2 separate regions of the Homo sapiens genome follow, and region 1 is linked to region 2. Evidence: promoter capture Hi-C in human tissues and cell types (Jung and others, 2019). All regions are on one chromosome and are shown on one strand. The core of a region is centred on a gene start or on the middle of the fragment in contact, and the rest is flanking DNA. Distances in the headings are between cores, read along the strand shown.

What was found. The method cuts DNA at HindIII sites, captures the fragments that hold promoters and counts their contacts. A contact is called where the count stands out against the background at its distance.
Region 1: a contact is called between a fragment that was not itself captured here and the fragment with the promoter of ZBTB21 in region 2, in 1 of the 25 tissues and cell types used here (thymus).

Annotation. Positions count from the first base shown.
Region 1 is chr21:42,417,891-42,424,456 of GRCh38, forward strand. It overlaps UBASH3A (ubiquitin associated and SH3 domain containing A), which reads left to right. Exons shown (of 15, transcript NM_018961.4): 7 at 511-719. Among named protein-coding and RNA genes, the nearest start is that of UBASH3A, 17 kb to the left of the region's middle. RefSeq lists an enhancer at 5,287-5,556. The HindIII fragment of the contact is 5,669 bases long and covers 1,574-6,566 here.
Region 2 is chr21:42,009,110-42,015,552 of GRCh38, forward strand. ZBTB21 (zinc finger and BTB domain containing 21) reads right to left here and starts at 1,251. Exons shown (of 3, transcript NM_001098402.2): 1 at 1,143-1,251. It overlaps ZNF295-AS1 (ZNF295 antisense RNA 1), which reads left to right and starts at 85. Exons shown (of 2, transcript NR_119384.1): 1 at 85-475. RefSeq lists silencers at 424-533, 574-883, 1,324-2,063. The HindIII fragment of the contact is 7,901 bases long and covers 1-6,443 here.

The DNA.
Region 1 (6,566 bases), core at 3,158-5,657, 410 kb after region 2:
TTTTTTTTTTGAGAGGGAGTCTCACCCTGTCACCCAGGGTAGAATGCAGTGGAGTGATCTGCGCCCACTTCAACCTTCGCCTCCCAGGTTCAAGTGATTCTCCTGCCTCAAGCTTCCCAAGTAGCTGGGACTACAGGCACCCGCCACCATGTCCAGCTAATTTTTGTATTTTCAGTAGAGACGGGGTTTCACCATATTGGCCAGGCTGGTCTCAAACTCCTGACCTTGTGATCCACCCACCTCGGCCTTCCAAAGTGCTGGGATTACAGGCGTGAGCCACCGCGCCTGGCCCCAAAATGTATTTCTAAATCTATCCAAAGAATTCTATGCTGCGTTTCATTACATTCTGTGCTATATATTGCCAGACAAAGCTTTGGATGGAGTCTTGGAGACACAGAACACATTGGAGGGGCAGAAAGCAGGAGGTGGCAGGTGATAGGCCTCCTATTGCTGCCATTTTCCAATGTAAATCTTTGCTCGAGACGTGAAACCCCTTTGCCTCTTTTCTAGACCCTGAGAGCCCTATTCCAGTACAAACCCCAGAACGTGGATGAGCTGACGCTAAGTCCTGGTGACTACATCTTTGTGGACCCCACGCAGCAGGACGAAGCCAGCGAGGGCTGGGTGATTGGGATCTCACAGCGGACGGGCTGCCGGGGCTTCCTGCCGGAAAACTACACGGATCGAGCCAGTGAGTCTGACACGTGGGTGAAGCACAGGTGAGTGCTGCCTCTGGCTGCAGCCCCGTCATCTCTCTCTGAGTTACTGTGTGAGAGTGCCCACCTGCCAACAGTGTGCTTCTAGACCATTCCATTATTGGTAAAATTGCATTCTGTATGCTGACAAAATTATTCCTGCAGGTATATAGTAAACATCTTGGTTCGTCCCTGGTTTTCTGATGATAACATTCAAAAAAGAATGAATTACTCTGCATTAGAGTAATTTGAGATGGTAATCCCCAAATTACTGCAAAATACTACTTCTTTATCACACACATAATAAATTATACTCAGAGGTCCTGAGCTTGGGTTTATTTATTCTTCTGCTCCGTGTATGAAATGTAAAGTCCTAGGTCGTATTATTAGTTTTCTATGACTGTATAATAAATTACCACTAAAACAAAGTGCAATTATTATCTTATGGTATTTATGGGTTGAGAGTCAGAGTCCAGCTTCACTGGGTCCTCAGCTCGGGGTCTCAAGGCTGTAATCAAGGTGCCTGCCAGGGCTGGGCTCCCCACTGAGGCTTCACACCCTCGCCTGAGCATACACAGTTGTTGGTGGGAGTGATTTCCTTGAAGCTGTAGGGCTCCTGGTGAGTTGCTTCTTCATCAGCTGAAGAATCTCTTAATTTTAGCACCTTTTAGCATCATCTGGTGAGGCTAAGGATTTTCAGAATCATCAGATACTGGTTCTTTTTTGTTCGATGTTCTTCCCTCAATTTATCTCTTTCCTCTCCCGCTTCACTATAAATAACATGAAGAAACCAGGTGATACACTTAACACTTTGTTTGGAAATAGCCTTAGCTATGTGACCAACATCATCGCTTACAAGTCCTGCTCTCCATGGACAATTTCATTAAACTCTCTGGCACACATGGGAAGGATCCTCCTTGCTCCGATTTCCTGGAACACCTGTCACATTCCTTTCTGAGTTCTCCCCGGAGGATTCACCTTTAGCATCCCTATTTCCTCTAGCAGTCTGTTCATGGTGATTTGGGCTTTCTCTGCTGTGCTACTCAAAAGTCTCTTAGCCTCTACTCGCTGCCAAGTCCCAAAGTTGTTTCCACATTTTAAGTTCAGAAGGTTTCCAACTTACAATGGTTTGGCTTAGGATTTCATAATGTTACGAAAGTGATATGGGTTCAATAGAAACTGTACTTCAAGTGCCCATACAATCATTCTGTGCTACATTTTCAGTACAACATTCAACGAATTACATGAGATACTCAACACTTGATTATAAAATCGGCTTTGTGTTAGATTATTCCGCCCTATCATAGGCTACTGTAAGTGTTCTGAGCGTGTTTAAGGTAAGCTAGGCCAAGCTGTGATGTTCAGTAGGTTAGGTGCATTAAATGCATTTTCAATTTATGATGGGTTTGTTGGAACATAACCCCATCTGAAGTTGAAGAACATCCACTGTTTGTTAGAGTAGCACCCCATTCCTGATACCAAATTTAGTAAAAGTTTAACCAGAGATGCAGAACCAGTCACTTTCATACAATATATAATACATATAAGTATATGTACAGTTGTCCCTTGCTATCTGCAAGGGATTGGTTCCCGGACCCCCACAGATACCCAAATCCTCATGTTCTCGAGTCCCCGATATAAAATGCTGTAGTATTTACATGCAACTTATGCACATCACCCTGTATCCTTTAAATCATCTCTAGATTACTTGTGATATGTAATACAGTATAAATACTATGCAAATAGTTGTTATACGGTATTGTTTTTTATTTGTATTTTTTAAATTGTATTGCTATTTTTTAATTGATTAATCTTTTGAATATTTTTGGCCTGCAGTTGGTTGAATCCACAAATGCAGAACCTCCAGATACAAAGGGCTGACTATACATACATAGTATTTTATATTATATACACATGTATCACACACATATATATATGGAAAGGTATATATGTATACACACATCTATATTGATTTACTACAATGAATTGCCTTATGGAATTACTGGGGCTAGCTAAGCAAGGGCAGACAGGCAGGAAGGGAGGAGCCTACTTAGGCTGAAAACCCATGGGCAAGCTGAAGCTTGTTGTCCACATGTGGCAGTTGGAAGGACCACCCGGGTGATGGGAGAGCAGTCACAGACACAGCTGCTATTGAAGTCTCTGAGTGTGAGGAAAGCCTAAGTTTTTAAAAAAAAATGCCTTCCAACTGCATAAGTCAGACCTGCTCAGAATAACCTTGCTTTTGATTAATTTAAGCTCAACTGATTAGGGGTTCTAGTCACATTTGTAAAATCTCCTTCCAGCAGCACCTAGACTAGCATTTGATGGGATAGCTAGGAAGGCTGTGTGTGATGCTTAGGATGGCTACTGCCTCCCTTCCATCCTCCAGCTCTCATGAGAATGCCTCTTGTAGCCCACCCTGATCAGACATGTGCTAAAAAGGAAGTCTAGGAACTGTCGTTCAGTCTGGCCAAGTTGCCACACCATAAAGCCATTGCAAAGTGTTAAGGTGGCTCTTGTGAGCTTTTTCACTCTCTTCTCCCAGGTTCCAGTTAGGAGAGTGGAGAGAGCAGGCAGAGGTCAGAGTACACATGGTGAAAAAAGAGAAAAGCTGCTCAGCCTCATGGGTGTGCCTGTTGGGGTGGAGCTCTTGCAGGTGTCAAGACTGATGGTTGGAACAACTGAATGATGAGAGTGGGAGGAGAAGGGCAGAAATACACAGAAAAACCCTATGTTGTGGTTCTGGGCTTCCTGGCACCTTCAGAGCTGTGTGGCTGGGGAAGAGAGCCTGGAAAAACACCATCGTGGCCATCCCTCTGTCTCCAGGCAGGAGGTCTTAAAACCATTTTATATTTCACTCATTTGTTTAATTCTCTCCTAAAATGCTCCACAGCTTCTCTAGGGTTCCCCTCACCACCCTGACAAATAAATAAATCATTAAGTTGAACACAGATGTATCAGCATCTACTCAATCTATAGATTTTCAGATCTGTGCTGGACATTTGCTGTGGACTTCTATTTCCAGCATCTATACATCCAGGGAATTATTTTCTGTACCCTTCCTAATGAGATTCATGCACATGGCAAAACTATGAAAATTGTGACGTTTTATTTGAGTAGTCATTAAAAGCTGCTTAAAAATTGTCAGAGGCTATATGGATAAGCCTCTGTGTGGATAAGACTAGCATTTTAAGTAAATTAAGAAAGAACGTATTTTGAAGAGCTGAAATAAATGATTGCATATTGGTCATTTTTATCCAAACCCCCAAAAAAGAAAAGAAAAGATGGTTTAATAGTACCTGATAGAAGCTCTTGGTGAAATGATTAGAATTTGCAAGAAATAGTAGTAAAAATAATGGAAGTATTGTCTGAAATATTTATAAAAGGAGATTTGGTGACTATGGCTGATTTCTTTAAGTATTATATTTCTTTTTGCTAATTATTCATACACTGAGATTTGTATAACAAGCCAGGGACAGTACCTATGTCCCTGGGCTCCCCCACTAAACATAATAGCCACTTGACATTCAAGGAGAGCAGATTCCAGCCAAAGCCCCACAGCTGTGCATACATGACATTCCATATCATCTTCTCTTGAGGCCATTTAACTTCTTACCCTAATGAATAAGAACTTAGGACCACAAAATGCAAATGTGGGATGAAAAATGCAGCCGTAGTCACACGTCTTTATTTATTGATGTGTTGACTCCTAATCCACTTAAATCTATTTTAAGGCAGCTTAAGAGATGTCCAATAGCTTTGCACACTAACATCACCCCCTGTGCCTGGCTCTGTGCCATGCATTTCCCTTACTAACTGATTTACTTCTCCAATACCCCCTGGATAGGCACTTTTATTGATCCATTTTATAGTTGATGAAACTGAGACACAAAGAGATCAACTCACTTGCCTGTGTTCACACAGCAAGTGAGCAGAGGAAGCCGGATTCCAGTCTTATACCTAATCCCACGCTTGGGCTTTCAACTATGACCTCAACTGCCTATAGAAGAGATCATTAAAATTTAAAAATAAGTCCATAAATTAAATTATGACACATCCATACAATAAAATATTTGCAGCTTTAAAATAATTAAAAGGGAGAATTTTATATATTGATTTGAAAAAATATGCAAGATTTATTGATAAATGAAAAAAATAAGTTGCAGAACGATGTGTATGGCATGATATACTTGTGGGGGAAGGGGAGAGAAACACATAACTGTCTGTAAATACATGTGCACAATATGTATTTCTATACATGTGTATGCCTAAAGGTTCCCTGGAAGGGAGAGTGTCTAGAAACTTCTAACCATGGTTACCGGTGGGTGTTGGGAGTGGGAGCCAGGAGAATGGAACAGAAATGGGAGGGAGTCTTTTCAAACACGACCATTTCATAATGTTTAAATGTATGAAGCATATAAATGCATTACTTACTCAAAACATAAATTAATCCATTTTAAATTTCAAGAAGAGAATGTAAGAAAGCTGGGTCAAAGGGAGAGTAAAGGTGGAAAAGCTAGACAAAGCCAGGGCTGAGGTTTGTCCATACCATGGCGTGCGCTGTGAGCTCCCAGCTCCGAGCTTTCCCACATCCAGTGAGAAAACAGACACACATTCAACCAACAGTCATGGCCATCCCAGATGCGTGCAGACCAGCGGTTCAGGAGAAACACAATTTGCTGACATAGACATGTCCGTGGGTCCAGGGGCCACATCAAAATCACAGGATGTGGGTGCCACAAGGGATTGTAGAGATAACCGAAGGCAGCTCCCCTGCTTGAGAGGTGAGAAGACTCGGGCCCAGGAGGCCAGGTGACGTTGTACAATCAAGGAAGCTCTTGCTTTCTTGCAAGCTCAGTTCACCACCTGATCCAATCAACAGTTTAAGGAATAGAGAGGAGATGCTGGCTATGCCCTAACTAACCATCTCAATTTCAGGAGGGTTGGGGCTCCCCTGTGGCCCCGCATCATTTAGCATGTCCTTCGCTCTCTGCCCGGGATGGGAGAGTTTCACAGTCACAGAGGAACCACAAAGACTCTGCAGAAGATGAGTCAGCGGCTATGATACTTTTCACTTCACAATTAATACATCAGACACCTGCCATCAACATAACCATTCCAGCTTTTATGCCTGACATTTCTGGGACTATTCTTTCCAGAGGAACTTTCTCTTGAGAATTAATCAGTATTAACAAAAATTGCAATGAAAGGAAAGAGAAATAAGCACTGGGCTAGGTGCTGTGGGTTGTCTGATTGGTCCTGCTTTGGAAGCACCCTCATTGTGGCTGGGGGAGCATCAAGACACCCTGACAAGCTGTGATCTGTGCTTATGGGCCAGTGAGGCAGATGACGGGAGCTGTTGGACTCCACTGTGCTGGCTAAATCTTTTCAAACTGCTGAAAATCCTTATTAAACATCTAAAGCTTTCAAAATCGGAAAATGATCCTTGAATGTCTCCACACATCACTGACATATTCATTAGTGGAAAATGGGGTCAGACAGCAATGTCCAGAGGCCAGCTGACCCACGGACTGACAGATAGCTGTGCAGATGTTGAATAATTACTTCCTACGAGCCCTGGTCAGGACTCACACTTGCACGATCCAAGCAGCAGAACCACTGGCATTAGAGTGCCTGGAAACAGACCTGCAGGCGCACCAGGAGGAATCCCCCTGCCCGCCACAGAGGGCACCTTTCCAGGTAAGAGTCTGCAGCTCTGATGAATAGTACTTGTCAATTAACACACCAGTCACCCATCACCACTATAATGACCCCAGCCTCAGCCTCCGTGCCAGACGGTGCAGGGATTCTTTGGACTTATCTACCGCAAAATCACACTGTAATGTTTGTCCATTGCTTTGAAGATCAGAG
Region 2 (6,443 bases), core at 1-2,500:
CAGGGCTGTGAGCGCTTGCACGAAAGGAAAAACCCCAGGCCGTGTGAAGTCTAACTTTCCCCGTCCTCTCGGTCAGGCAATCCCACCGGGGCACCTGTCTAAAAACACCCCGCCTCCGAACGCGCGCTCTTGCGGAATTCTCCCGAACCGCAGAGCCCTCGTGGCTGGGACCGCATAGCAACCGGGGGCAGAGTGCGAGCCCCCAGCGGTGTGCTGGGATGGAAAAGCAGGAGCCGCTGAGGATGGACTACGGGGCGTGTTCCCGAAAAGCCGGGAAGAGATGTGGCGGGGCTGCCGCGGGCGTCTCTAAGGCCGGCACGGGTGGCGTCTTGACTCCCTGCCCCTCCAGCCGCGGACCTCGGACGGGGGGAAGGGGGCTCCTCCAAGCGGGGAGACGGTCGCCGGCCGAGCAGCAGGGCTCCTGGCCGGCGGAGGGTGCTATGCTCTGCGGGACCGCCGGGAAGTCCCAGACAAGGTCTGCGGGGGCTCTGGAGGAAAAAAAACGCGCTGTGAGGTCCAGGCGTCCGCGGGAGGGGCCGGGGGCGGGGAGGGAGCGTCCAGCGGGCACCGAGCGGTCACGCTCCGGCCACCGGGCCGAGGACGGGGCGGCGGGGCTAGGTCCCGGACCGTGAAGGGAGCGGCGGGTCGCGGCAGGTGCGGGGTCCCCAAGGCCGCCGGCCAGCTTCCGCGCACACCCCGCGGCCCGGGCCGCCGGCCCCCAACCCCTGCCCGGAACAGGAGAACGCGCCCTTCTCCACGAGGCGTTTCAACCGCTCCGCGCGAGGGGCGCGCGCCTGGGCCAGGCGTGTCCCCTACCCCAGGGGCAGCTCGGCCAGGGTGAAGAGTGAAGCCCGTGAGGGAATGGAGCATGCGCATTCGCGAGGGCGAGGCCAAGTGCTGGCAGGGAGCGTGCGCAGTGTGAAGGTACAATCGGCTACGTGGGAACCCGGGACATGCTCGGTGAGCGCCCAGGTCCCGCGCACGCGCAGAAGCGCTCGGAGCCCGCAACCCGCTGGTGGAGAAAAAAGAGGAGAGAAATCACCTCAGAGTTACGTCAGGAAAGGCCGCGTTTTGCGGGGAGGCTGTAGCCTCCCAAGGAGCCCCGCAGTTCTCCTAGAGCTAGGGGCGTGACAGTTACTCACCGGTCTTCAGTCTCGAGGCAGACGCCGGGCCCCTTTCCGCTCACACTCGGCTCGCGCGCGCCGCAGCCGCCGCTGCCGCTGTGATTCCATCCATCTTGAATTTGACGTCATCCCACACCAGGGATGAGGTCATCGCAGGCATCGCTCGTCACGTGCGCGGCACTCTGATTGGGCGCCGGGCGCCGGAGGGCGGGGCGGGGGGGGGGCCTCGCGGCGCAGGGGGACGGGGGAGGGCGGGCCTGCCCGGAGCCGCGCGCCGAACGGACGCTGCCGCGCTGCAAGCCCGCGCTCTCGGTCCATGAGGGGAGCCTGCGGCGGCCGTTAGGGGAGGCGGCCGGGCTGGGGGCCACGGCGAGGAGGCTGAGCGCCCCGGCCGGGTGGAGTCCGTCGCGGCGAGGAGCGCGCCGATTCTCAGGGGACTTTGCCGCCTGCCGGAGGCGCCCTTGCTGCGGGGTCGCCCCGGGTCATTCGGCCGCGGTCCTGCCCAGCTGGGCCGCCAGTAGTCCCCGCTTCCGGCGCGGCGGGATGCGTGGCGCGAGCGCTTAGTCCCTCGGAGGGGAGGACGCGCTCCCGTTCACCGGTGGACGGCGGGCGACTCCCCGAGCCGACGACCCCGACAGCGACGGGAGCGACGCGCGGCTTTCTGACGGGCGCGGGCGGCGAGCGGGGCCCTGCGGTCCTCGGGTCGGCGGCAGACGCTCCCGGCCCGCGAGGAAAGCCCGCGGGAGGCGGCTCCTGCCGCTCGCTAGTCGCTCAGAGCGCTTCCATTTCCTCCTCCCGACGCAACCTGGCCACCTGGCCCCTGGGCGGGGACCCGGCGGCCGCGGCCAGGGCGTCCGGGCTCGTTCGCCGCGCAGATGGGGGTCGGTCCTGACCCCCGCCGGGGCGTCCACAGCGGCCCGCAGGCAGCCGGAGACTTCGCATAGTGCCCGGCTCATCGGAGGGCTGTGATCTTTTTTTTTTTTGCAGAAATATTACAACTCCACTGATGAGAAAACTCACTTCGCTTTCAGTCAAAACCAGAAATTAGATAACAGAAATGCCACACTGTCAACACCGACCGGGAGGAAAGCCTCGCTGGCGGAGACCGCTCAAGGGAGCCCTCCGCGCGTTCTCCCAGCCCGGGTCGCAGGTGGAGGGGGAGTGCCTCCTGCAGGGACGGTTCTCCCGCAGACACTCAAACTCCGGGATGTAAAACCCCTGTTAATAATTGTCAGGGGTCTGTTAATTGCCAAATACAGTTTTTGAAAGTTGTATGCACTAGGTAAAATAATTTATGTAATGTTTGGAAGTATGTGAAAGACAGACATTAGATTGATACAAATTAAAAATTTGTTGCCAAATTAACAGCTCTGTTGTAGATTATTAGTTTGACTAATTTTAAGAGGACTCTTAGTCTTACATAAAGAATCTTGCACCTAAAAATTTTCTCCTACAACTTTAAAACACTTTAAATTTTTTTTTTTTTTTCCTGAGATGGAGTCTCTGTCAGTCCCAGGCTGGAGTGCAGTGGCATGATCTCAGCTCACTGCAGCCTCCACTCCCTGGCTCAAGCCATCCTCCCGTCTCAGCCTCGGCAGTAGCTGGGACTATAGGTGCATCCGTCACACCTAGCTGATTTTTGTATTTTTGGTAGAGATGGAGTTTCACCATGTTGCTCAGGCTGGTTTCAAACTCCTGGTCTGAAGCAATCCACCCGCCTCAGCCTCCCAATGTGCTTGGATAACAGGTGTGAGCCACCATGCCCAGCCTAAAGAGTGTCTGTATTTTGAACTGTATGGTGGAAAAGCACAAAGTGACTGTTCTGAAGGTAGAAGGCAACAGTGATTATAAGTCTTAAAAGAACCTTGAGTTTTAGGTTCCCCTGTGATTAGGCTGGGGGAGTGTGTGCTGTTATCCTAGTTTTATAGGTGAGAAAACTAGTACTGGCTTTACCGCATGCTGGAAGCAGCCTCCCTTGAGCGATCCCTTTCTAGCCACCTGCTTAGCTGTTTTTTTGTTTTGTTTTGTTTTTTGTTTTTTCAACCTTCCTCAGGACGATACACATTGGTGTCTCTGCTTTGAGCTATATGATCAGGCTTTTGGCCTCACCATTTCACTGGAATTGACCTGACTGCCAAATCTGGCAGAAACCGTTGCATCTTTCAGTTGCTCTCTTTGATTTGTGACACGCTTCCAATTGCTTCAGCAGTGATTGCTTCAGTTACGCCTCATTCCCTGGATTTCCCACCTCTTGGCTGACTGCTCCTCCTGGGCCGGCTGTGTTGGCCCTTCTGCCCCTGCCCATGCTCGCACTGGGTTTCTTGGCACACACACCCTATGCAGTCTCATCCATGCTTGGAACATATGCCCAGTTGCTGGAGCCAGGAATGTGGGCACCATGGTGGGCTCCTCCCTCACTTCCAGTATTGGGTCTATCCCCAAGTCCTGTCCGTCCGACCTCCTCAGTGTTTCTCTGGTAACGTAACCGCTTAACTGCTCTCCCAGCCTCCAGGTTTCCTCCTTTAATCCACTCTCACATTACAGCCAAAGCGATTTTTCTAAACAGCAAAAGGGATCATGCCACTCCCTTGCATAGGGTTTAATGGCTCTCCATTGCCTAGGTGAGAGTTCAAACCACAACGCACAAGTGCCTGAGGACTTGGCCCAGCCTCTCCCATCTTTCCCCCACCTCCACTCTGACATGCAGGCCTCTAAACTAGTCTTGCTCTGTCTCTTGCCTCTGGGCTTCTGGGCTTCAAGTGTGTTGTCCCTTCTGCCTGAGCTATTGCCCCCACCACTACCACCCTGTTTTAATGGGATAATTTCATCTTGATTGGTGTTTCTTCCTCCAGGATTCCACCACCTCCCCACCCCACCTGACTGGCATCTTCTCAGCTGTATCTAGGGTTGGTGCTCCCTCCTCTGTGCTCCCATAACACCTGGTGCAGGTTTTGTTGACACCACTTGTGTAGGTGATGTTGGATTTGCCAGCCAGCACCCTCTCATCCGCCCTGCAGGTTTCTTGTTTGCCTCTGCCTGCCCAATGCCTGACTTTCAGTCTAAATTCCTTACCTCTTTCAGCTTCTGGTGGCTGCCAGCATTTCTGAGCTTGTGGCTGTATCACTCCAATCTCTGCCTGTGTGTTCACATGGCCTTCTTCTGTCTGTCAAATCTCCCTCTACTTCTTAGTGTTAGCCGTACACTGAAGCACCCCAAACAGGATCTCTCACACCATAGACACATATGTTCTTTTATACAAAATGCACATTGTTTATGCAGCCACCTCATTAGACACCCTGCGGACAACCCACAGCTGTGCACACAGCAAGCTCACAGCTGGACTTCCTATCGACATTCTATCTGCCCTTGAACCATTTTTTCCATCCTTGACTGTGTCCTACTTAATTAAAGATGCTGCTGTCTGCCTTGCTACCCAAGCCAGAAACTTGACGGTTATTTCTCAATGTCTGCATTCAACTGTCACTAAGTCCTATCAATCTACCTCTTAAATGCCACTTAAACCTGTCCTTACCAGCCTTATTTCAGCTGTTTCTGGCCTGCAGCAGCTCTGTCCAATCTGTAGCCATTGCAACCAAGTTCCTGCCTCAGTTTTGCTTCCTTCCCTTCCCAGCCTAGTGCGTTTTCAATCAAATTTATCTTTCCAAATGCAACTCGGGTTAACTTGCATTGGTGCTGTATACCCACCCACCCTCCCATGTGGCTTGCAGATGCCTGCGGCCTCATAGCTGGGCATGGCCTGTCCAGTGCTGCCAAGGTGGCTTTGCTTTCTGCTTGCCTCGCCTTTGCCAACCCCTCTAGCCATGTAGTCTGGCATAGGCACTTCCTGGGATGGCCTTTTCCTATTCAATCTGCAGGCAAATCCAATTTCAAGTGTCAGACCGAGGCTGCCTCCCTCTGCGCTTCAGTGATTCCACTATACCATCTATTTCACCTATTCCCATCTGCTCAAAGGCCGGTTTCTCCACTAGTTTGCATGCCCCTTGGCACAGAGACCATGTCTGTTAACTTGTGTATGCCCGGAGCTTTGGACCTGTTGCTAGGGCTGTGTCCTGGGCCATCTGTTCCCGATGGCTAGAGTTTTCTCTCTGAAACTGTTACAGTGGTAGCCGATTCTCCAGTGTTCATGCTGTTAAGTTGGTTTGCATTTCTTATAACAAAAAAAAACACAGCCCTTTTATAATTTGGGGGAGGGAAGTCTCTATGGGGTTTAACATATCTGCTTCTTCATATTTGGAAGCGGGAAGTTTTAATCAGCTGTGATTCTCTTAACCATCATTTCATTGGAATGGGTACCTGGCTGTCCAGATTTGCCCAATCTATGGGTTGGGTGGTTATCTCTTTAAAAAATTCATTAGTTTCCTGTGGCTGCTGTAATAGCTTTCTACAAACTTGGTGGGTTAAAACAATAGAAACTTACTCTTTTACAGTTCTGGAGGCCAGAAGTCCGAAATTGGTCTTATGGGATGGAAATTCAGGTGTGAGCAAGGCCACACTTCCCTTGGAGGATATAGAGAAAGTGCCTTGCTTTCAGCCTCTGGTGGCTGCCAGCATTCCTGGGCTTGTGGCTGCATCACTCTGATCTCTGCTTCTGTGTTCACATGACCTCTTTTCTGTCTGTCAAATCTCCCTCTACCTGTTTCTTTCTTTGTTTTGTTTTGTTTTGTTTTGTTTTTGTTTTAGACACCTGGTCTTGCTCTGTTGCCTAGGCTGGAGTATAGTGGTGCACTTATAGTTCATGTAACCTTGAACTTCTGGGCTCAAGTGATCCTCCAGCCTCAGCCTCCCAAGTAGCTAGGCCTATGGGTGTGCACCACCACACCTGGCCTTCTCTGCCTCTTTCATAAAGGGACACTTGGGAAGGCATTTAGGGCCTACCAGGAGAATCCAGCATGATCTCCCCATCTCAAGATCTTTTCATTTAATTACATCTGCAAGACCCTTTTTTCATATAAGGTAACATTGGAGGTTTCAGAGATCAGGACTTGATATCTTTAAGGGTCATTAGTCAGCCTACTGCAGATAAGAACAGTATTCCTGTGTAGCGGCATGGGAAGGCCTTTGAAAAGTATGTGAAACAGAAAAAGAAAAAAGAGAAGAGAATGGGAAGTGGGGAAAGTGAGGAAGGTAGTAACACTTTGGGTTGCTGTGTAAATGGTTTCCAACAACCACCTTCACAGTGAATATCACTCCGCGTGCTCAGAACTGGAGTGCCCCGGGCCATAGTGCCTCTTCAGCATGGTTGAAGTTGGGTGGGATTAAGTGTTGATCACACTGGGTTCTCATAATTGAGAAGCCCTA